Regions from separate parts of the Homo sapiens genome. Here regions 1 and 3 are each linked to region 2. The links are contacts of gene promoters, found by promoter capture Hi-C in blood cells and fetal thymus (Javierre and others, 2016). All regions are on one chromosome and are shown on one strand. Each heading gives the region's core, a stretch centred on a gene start or on the middle of the fragment in contact. The rest is flanking DNA. Distances are from core to core; before and after follow the strand shown.

The links. The method cuts DNA at HindIII sites, captures the fragments that hold promoters and counts their contacts. A CHiCAGO score of 5 or more calls a contact.
Region 1: the fragment with the promoter of FNTB here is called in contact with a fragment that was not itself captured in region 2 in 1 of 17 cell types (M2 macrophages); the score reaches 5.2 in M2 macrophages.
Region 3: the fragment with the promoter of COX16 here is called in contact with a fragment that was not itself captured in region 2 in 3 of 17 cell types (non-activated CD4 T cells, total CD4 T cells and naive CD8 T cells); the score reaches 5.6 in non-activated CD4 T cells.

Annotation. Positions count from the first base shown.
Region 1 is chr14:64,985,645-64,988,344 of GRCh38, reverse strand. FNTB (farnesyltransferase, CAAX box, subunit beta) reads right to left here and starts at 1,450. Exons shown (of 12, transcript NM_002028.4): 1 at 1,248-1,450. The coding sequence starts at 1,391. All of the region lies in intron 3 of CHURC1-FNTB (CHURC1-FNTB readthrough), which reads right to left. It overlaps LOC107984655 (a long non-coding RNA gene), which reads left to right and starts at 1,232. Exons shown (of 2, transcript XR_001750792.2): 1 at 1,232-1,665; 2 at 1,746-2,700. The HindIII fragment of the contact is 3,816 bases long and covers 1-2,700 here.
Region 2 is chr14:67,360,800-67,363,617 of GRCh38, reverse strand. The region is part of intron 1 of EIF2S1 (eukaryotic translation initiation factor 2 subunit alpha); the gene reads right to left. It also overlaps a transcript of GPHN not described here. Among named protein-coding and RNA genes, the nearest start is that of EIF2S1, 1.9 kb to the right of the region's middle. The HindIII fragment of the contact is 1,601 bases long and covers 565-2,165 here.
Region 3 is chr14:70,358,427-70,361,157 of GRCh38, reverse strand. It overlaps COX16 (cytochrome c oxidase assembly factor COX16), which reads left to right and starts at 1,475. Exons shown (of 4, transcript NM_016468.7): 1 at 1,475-1,639. The coding sequence starts at 1,571. All of the region lies in intron 3 of SYNJ2BP-COX16 (SYNJ2BP-COX16 readthrough), which reads left to right. It also overlaps the pseudogene RNU2-51P. RefSeq lists enhancers at 896-985, 1,446-1,755. The HindIII fragment of the contact is 4,146 bases long and covers 1-2,010 here.

The sequences.
Region 1 (2,700 bases), core at 201-2,700, 2.4 Mb after region 2:
TTTCATCAATGGGAAATTTCTTTACAATCTTTTGCAGTCAGCCTTCCCTGGGACACACTGGTAGGCAAACCAACCTGGAGAATTAGCTAGATTCGAGAGGTGAGGATTTCCTTTGCTACCCTAAATTCCATGAAGTTTAAATCTCCAGTTAAAATATTTTCTCTGCTACTTTGTGAATAACCACGTATCAAGCCCTTGTTTCTGTTATAAATTTATAATTCTATTTAGTCATAACTGTACAATAAAACAATTATTGTTACTAATTTTGCCAAAGTACAGGCTTCCAACTTAAAGTAGGAAATACAAAACAGGTCTCTCCAAGGTAAAGCCTGGAGACTGATCTCACTAAGAGATCTTATTTCAGTAAGCAGCAGAATGTTCATTTATTAGTGTTAAGAATTATCCTAACCACTTCTCCTAGGGACAGATGGATAAACAGTTCCACATAGCAACCTTGGGAACAATTCCAATTAGGGAATAAGAAGAAAAACAAAACTATGGTTTTGGGCATATGAATATATACTCATTCGCCAAACACTTTTCAAAATGATAGGTTCGATCCTACTTCTAGGCCTTAGGGAATGATTAGTAGTCCAAAATCCATTCTTTCTATTAGATCACTTTCCAAACTGTTTTCCTGCCTGTCCCCCAACCAGGCTCCTGGTCAGGAGCTGTTTTATTTCCTTGTACTTCCATCGTTTAATATTGTGTCCGACACGTAGCTGGTGCTCAAATGGCTGAATGACTACCAAAATGCCCACCCACGAGGCGGGCCCCCAAACCTGGCACTGTAGGTCAAAAATTAAACAGATCGTGAAACGGCATGACAGCAGCCTGGCCCTGCTCTCTGCCTCCAGAAGCTGAGGGCAGGTTGGGAAAAGTGCACTATGCACCCCAGAACCTCCCGAAGTACTGGCAGAACAGAGTGGGCTGTCCGACCCGCACGGGCTGCCTCTGTCCTCCAGGCATAGAACACGATTCTTCTCGTTCTTTAGGGCAGAGGGGACTCGGCTACTGCCCTCTCCTCCAAGCCCAACCTTGAAACGACCCTTCCCCAAGCTGGCCGCGCAAACGCTCCACGACGAAGCCCAAGCCTGGGCGCCCGGAGCTTCCCAGAGGAAAGGCACCGCGGTGCGCTGTGGGAGTCGTAGTTCCCCGGTGAGTTCCGCACCCGGGCGGCCCTACGAACGGGACTCGCGCTCCCAGAACACATCGCGCGGGCGCCTCGCCCAGTCCTGCCACCTCACCTGTTCTATGGACGTGACTGTTTCCACCGAGTCGTCCTGCAACCGCTCTCGCGCGTGCTCGGGCCTCAGACTGTACAGCGGCTCTGACCAGACGGGGGAGGAAGATGGAGGGCAATAGTAGGTGAAAGAACTCGGAGAAGCCATGATCAGGAGAGCAGCAGACAGTGTGTAGGACTCTGCTTCGTTAAGCAACAACGCGCATTGAAACTCGAGCGGGCTAAAGCGCTACGGCGAGCGGATAGAGGCAAAAAGATTTTGAACGCGAATGTCTCCTCCCGCCTACCCGTCTTTCGAGTGAGTTACTGAGATGCTGCCGCCCCCCATTGGGCAGAGGAGCTGCTGCAAGAGCGTAGAGTCCTGAAGCGCAAGGGTGTCTACATCCGAATTTCATTTCAGCGAGATGGCGTAGGACGCCTCGGTTTGTTACGCAAATTGTTAAAGAACTGTAACATTCTGCTAATTCTCACTTAATTGTAATGCAATTGTTTGCAATTTCAGGTGCCCAAGAACCCAATGAATGTTAAGTTTGAAAGCATTTCTGACAGCTCTACTGATTTGCCTCAGTCAGGCAATTACTAAAAGAATTATTGTGCACCTTGGGGTACTTGACAGCCTCCCAGGAGAAGGCAGCAGCTGCTCAAACGTGCAAGGACGCCGTCTCAGTATCACTCAGTGATGGAGGGAGGGGGGTATTATGATTTTCTCCTGTCTCTTGGAGGTTACACTGCAGTAGCGAGAACTGAAATGCAGTACAAGGAACAAGGATAAGTGAAATAGACAGTCAGTCCGCAGATATTTATGGAACACCTGCTATGTGTCAGGCATTGTGCTAGGTTCTAGGAATACAAAAGTGAACAAAACGAAGTCCCTTCCCTTGGAAACCTTACATTCTAAGAAAATCGACAGAATTGAATGTATCCAACGCAATAAATATATGAAGACTTGTGATAAATGAGATGAAGGAAAATAACAGGGTCTATGAGAGAGACTAAAGGGGTAAGAAACTAATTGAATTGTATGGTCAGGCCAAGCCTCTCTAAATGACCTTTCATTTGAGATCCGAAGGATGACGAGGAGTCATCCAGAAGAACAGTATGGGAAAGAACTCCTGAAAAAGGAAGAAACAGCAGCTTTTAGAAGACATGTGCTGGGCACGGTGGCTCACGCCTGTAACCCCAGCACTTTGGGAGGCTGAGGCAGGAGGATCACTTGAGGAGTTAGAACATCCTGGGCAACATAGCAAGACCTCATCTCTATTAAATATCAAAAAAATTAGCCGGGCGTGGTGGCGCATGCCTGTAGTCCCAGCTGCTCGACAGGCTAAGGTGGGAGGATCTCTTGAGCCCAAGAAGTCGAGGCTGCAGTGAGCTATGATTGTGCCACTGCACTCCAGCCTGGGTGGCAGAGCGAGACCCTGTTTCAAAAAAAAAAAAAAAGCAAAACAAAAAAACAA
Region 2 (2,818 bases), core at 116-2,615:
AGGTTAAGTTACTTGTTCTTTCACATACTGCTAACAGGTGATGAGTCAGGATTTGAATCCATGAAGTCTGGATCCAGAGTCTGTCCTCTTATCAGTAAGACTATATTCTCTCAAAACTATTCATAAATATATTATAATTAGAAACATTTTACTTAAAAAGCAACATTAATATATATTCAGTGCCAGAGTACATAACACCAATAAGTGCAAACTATTAGTACTCATCTGTTTGACAACAAAGAGCAGCATATTAATGACAGTAGCAGAGATGTATTTCTTTGTAGGGAATACAAAATCCCTACAAAATAGGGATTTAGCAAATAAAGAGAAGTAGACATTCAATGGCCTTACCCACCAAGAAACAGCTGACTGTTTGTTTCGTTTTTAAACAGGGCTTTTCGAGGGTGGGGGTGGGGAAACTGTTGTTGAATATGTGTATGTAAAGCTCTCAAATTTGAGAGCTAAAAAGTTTCAAATTGGGCATAAAAATAAACTATGTTACAGAAATGTATGGAACAGTTGCAAGACATTTGACCAGTGAAAACCACATTTACTTACCAAGCTTCTCCAAACAGTAAAGGTGATGCTTTTAGGGGAAGCAAGGCTTAATTTGATGGTTAAAAAACATGGGCAATCATGTAAGAGAATCCTGAAGGGATATGACTATGAATACTATTTCTTCAGGAGGCACAAGTCTCTTTGCAACATAAAGGGTAAGTAAAGGAATACTGTTGATGGTATGTTATTCATAGTAAAGATAGATAGTAGTTAAGTACAAAAAGAATCCATACCACAAAAACCTGCATATTGGTTGACAATTTTTGAACATATTGCCTAATGAAATGCTAATAACTTAAATTTTTTTTTTAACTTAAAAAAATCATTCCGCAATATCGAAGTCACACTAGGTGACTTCACCTCTTTATCTTTTTCACAGCATTCTTATTTTATTTGGTCCTCAAGAAGTGTCAAATCAGGCAATTAACATAGTAAACTCGGGGAACAACTCTAGCCTTGTGTTCCAGTCCTTGCTCTGCTACTTACTAGAAGTGGCTGCTTGGGAAAGATAACATCCTTTGAACTGTAGTTTCTCATCTGTGCCATGTACATCACAGGTTTACTGAGGGTATCACATGTATACGTAAAAACATTTTGAAAACCATTATGTGCTAGTCAAACATAAAATATTGAAAGAAAAAGAAGGTATTTCCATTTTGTAATATAATAATTTGTTAATTTTTTTTTCAGTAGCTACTATGTACTAAGCACTAATGATACAACAAGAAAGACTCTTACCAGGCCAGGCGCAGTGGCTCACACCTGTAATCCCAGCACTTTGGGAGGCCGAGGCGGGTGGATCACTTGAAACCAGGAGTTCGAGGCCAGCCTGGTCAACATGGTGAAACCCCATTTCTACTAAAAATACCAAAATTAGCTGGGTGTGGTGGCAGGCACCTGTAATCCCACTACTATAGTGGCTGAGGCAGGAGAATCCCTTGAACCCAGGGGCAGAGGCTACAGTGAGCTGAGATCGTGCCACTACACTCCAGCCTGGGCAACAGAGACTCTGTCTCAAAAAAAAAAAGAAAAAAGAAAAAAGAAAAAAAAAAAAGACTCTTACCTAAGTAATTAAGTATAGAGTGGGAAACAAACTAGCAAGCAAATAATTACAATACAAAGTACTATGAAAGGGCACAGTGAAGCAATGAACAGGAAAGGTGGAACAGAAATACTAAATTATAATACTTCCTTAAGAACAAATGCTTAATAAGTACTAGCGTAGGAGCTAAACTCAAGTAATCCGACATCAAATCCAGAATGTCTTTAACCCACAGAACCTCAATATCACAACATGCTATAATACTCTTATGTGTTCTGATGTAAAAAGTATCAGCCACCTTTCAAAATATATCAACCAAACTCCAGGCTAATTTCAAATACCCTGCATAGTCAGTTATTTTGCATGACAAATGGTAGGTAGGACTTCTTTCTCAAAACAGTGCATGGTCAAACTGCTATAATGGATATAGAAGTTCACATTCCTTTCCAAAATATATTATGTGATGGGGACAACTCTCGTGATAATTCTAATTTGGATCTAACACGTATTAGGAATGCTCTCTGAATGCTAGTTCTTGGTATAGGAGTGCTACATAAGTAAAGCTTTTATTTCATCATTATAGTTGAAAAAGAAAGTTATCACCGAATCTCTACAAACATTACTGTGCATGAGACAACTACATCTTTTGGCACCAGATGAACTAAGAATAGGTAGCAAAGTTCTGTACAAGTCACCCCCAAACTATTGACAGAGATTGTTCCTTGAATAACAACTCAATTGAGGGGAAATAAAGACTTCTCTGCTATACTTTTTCTCGAAGAAACCATGTTTTTTGCTTAATAAAAATTTAAAAAGCCTAAGTTTTGAGGATAAAGAGACCTCAGCATGACTGTGTATTTAACCCGAAAATATATCCTTATCTTAGGTTTTAGTTATGCTTAACTAACATAGTTAACCTAACATATGCTTAACACAGTTCTATTCTCATTGTCGCCAAAATACGACAAACTGATAGTAACAGTAATAAACTCAAGTCTCATTTAGTTTTGGTTCAAGGGGTGACTCATTCAATTATCAGATGAAAAACTACTCGGACCCCGCTCTTTCCAACACGGTGCCCGTCCCACAGGTTTCTCAGGTAAGAGGCCAGTTTGGTTTCCACTGAGACGCAGGGGAAATTTTTGGTAGAGCTGTTGGGGCGGAAGAAAAGATGGAATTCTCAAGCCTGGAAAAAGCAAAGTGCTCAGCGTCCTGAGC
Region 3 (2,731 bases), core at 226-2,725, 3.0 Mb before region 2:
TTACAGGCATGAGCCACCATGCCTGGTCTGCATGAATTTTGAAATATCAAAAGGAAGTAAATAAGATGGGAGAGATGCACCGTTCCTGGGTTTCTGGAGGTATTGAAATACAGGTTGATGTGTAGAGTGGTGGAGCAAACTCCTATTCCATCTCCTTGCTTCAAAAACCCATTTAACATATTTTCCTTGGATAGAGAATGTGTCAAATATTAAACTGTTAAGAACAGATACTACACTTGATCTTAGCCAAAAGGATAAGTTTCACTGGAGTAGCCTGCAGTAGATCTGGAGCTTCTCTTCTGGAGACCACTTAAGAGGCTACTTTAATAGGTGAAAAGATGATAAGGAATTAAAAAAAGGAACATTTCAGTGGTAACAGAGAGGCAGGGACAGATGGAAATATTTCAGGAATAGCATGGAAGATAATATTCCGCATCACCTGCACTCTGATTCACTCTGGTAAATGGGACACGTGGGGGATCGGCTTCCTAAGCTATCCCAGTACTTCACACATGTTTGTTTCTGTGCCCATGAAATCGCCAGTGTCTTTAAGGTAAGGATCATATATTTTTATCTGTGTTCCTAGAACCCTTTCAAAGACACGCTGAAAGGTGGCCTGTATGGTTGCTGAATCATTGGTAAATAGACATTCATAAATGACTAAAGATTACAGGTTATCTCACAGTAAAATCATTAGCATTAAAAGTTCAGTAATGACTGATGAGACACTACACTGATTACATTTCAACCTAATCTTTCAAAAGCGATTTATTTTTAAAAGTCTCCATTAAACTGGCAAATTCCTCATCCCACAAATAGCCATAAAGACTGGAGTACCAGCTTCAAAATACTTTTTTTTCTTTTTTCTTTTTGAGACGAAGTCTCGCTCTTGTTCCCCAGGCTGGAGTGCGATGGCGCGATCTCTGCTCATTGCAACCTCCGCCTCCCGGGTTCAAGCGATTCTCCTGCCTCGGCCCCCCAGTAGCTGGGATTACAGGCGCCTGCCACCACGCCCGGCTAATTTTTGTATTTTTTTTTTTTAATAGAGACGGGGTTTTACCATGTTGACCAGGCTGATCTAGAACTCCTGACCTCAGGTGATCTACCGGCCTCGGCCTCCCAAAGTGCTGGGATTACAGGCCACCCACCCAGGCCACCGCGCCCGGCCTCAAAATACTTTTTTCCTTAGCTGATTTTATCGAGTGGCTATGTGCCTAAGGGAGTGTTCTAAGCAGACGTTAGTTAGGACCCAGAACGTGGGAAGTACTGGTTTCCAGATCAATTTGGTGGTGATCGTAAACCGATTCAAATCTCTAAATCCCAATTGCACGCCGACGTTACGGAACCAAAAACGCTGACGCCCACATTTCTGGGCGGACGCACAAGTATGTTACGATGGCTCGATTGCTTTTGCCTAGCGGAAACCATTCACTAAGGACCGAGCACCAAATAACCAAGGAAAAGGAAGTGAGTTAAGGACGTACTCGTCTTGGTGAGAGCGTGAGCTGCTGAGATTTGGGAGTCTGCGCTAGGCCCGCTTGGAGTTCTGAGCCGATGGAAGAGTTCACTCATGTTTGCACCCGCGGTGATGCGTGCTTTTCGCAAGAACAAGACTCTCGGCTATGGAGTCCCCATGTTGGTGAGTGGAGTGAGGAGGATCTTCCGCAAGGGGTGGGACCCTCCTCCTTGGCAGGATCAAGACCTGGGAGGGAATCTGTAAAATGTGAAGTTAAGGGCTGGCACTCGGGCTAGGAAGGAGCTAGCGACGGGGTGAGAGCTTTCCTAAAAGCTCTTCCACCAGTCTTTTCCACACCCCCACTTCCCCGCCGCTGTCCCCCACTCCCGGTTGGATTTCAGGTGTACTAGGATCTGTCTGCTTGTGAGCGTGGCGTCTTTCCCATCGTCGAACGCGGTCATTGTTACTACCCTTGATTCACAGTTAAGTAAATTGAAGCTCAGAGAATTCAGTCAGAACCACACTTTAAGCCAAGTTTGGATGATTACTAAGCTTGCTTCCTCGCCCCCAACTTAGCTATGTTTTGACGATACTGTGGATCATTGGGACTAGATGTATTCCATTTAACTGCACGAATTCCTGGTATCTTTCTGTTTCATCTTTCTAGTTTGTGAATTAGCTTAATACTTAGAGTTGTGATGAACTAATAACACCTTGTGAATAAAGTGTTGAGTACGGTGCCTGCCACATTGTAGCCAGAATGATTGCTGTGTTATAATTTCTAAAGCACGTTGAAAACAGCTTCCGTGTTTATATGGTTTCATCCATATCCACACTGAGTTCCCTAAGGATGTCATGAAATGCAGGCTGAGGCTGGCTTAAGACAACCAGAGTTGAAATCCAGATGACTCTTATTTGCTTTTTGATTACGGGCCAGTTATTTTGCTTCAGCAAGCCTTGATGTGTTAGTAAATGAAATAATTAAAGCATATGAACAAAAGCTGCTTTTAAATACAGACTATATTTTTATTTTGTATGAATGTTGGCGCAGATGAAATTACCAGCTTTTCCATTTAAGCAGACTAAAGGAAAGAAGTGATCTTAGAAAGGTAATGGATATTTTACACAGTTTTGAAAAATCCACATTCATCAAATGTGGATTTTAGGAATCTCCAAAAGATTCACCCATTTGAAGTATCTGGGCCAAGCACGATGGCTCACACCTGTAATCCCAGTGTTAGGGGAAGCCAAGACAGGAGGATCGCTTTAGGTCAG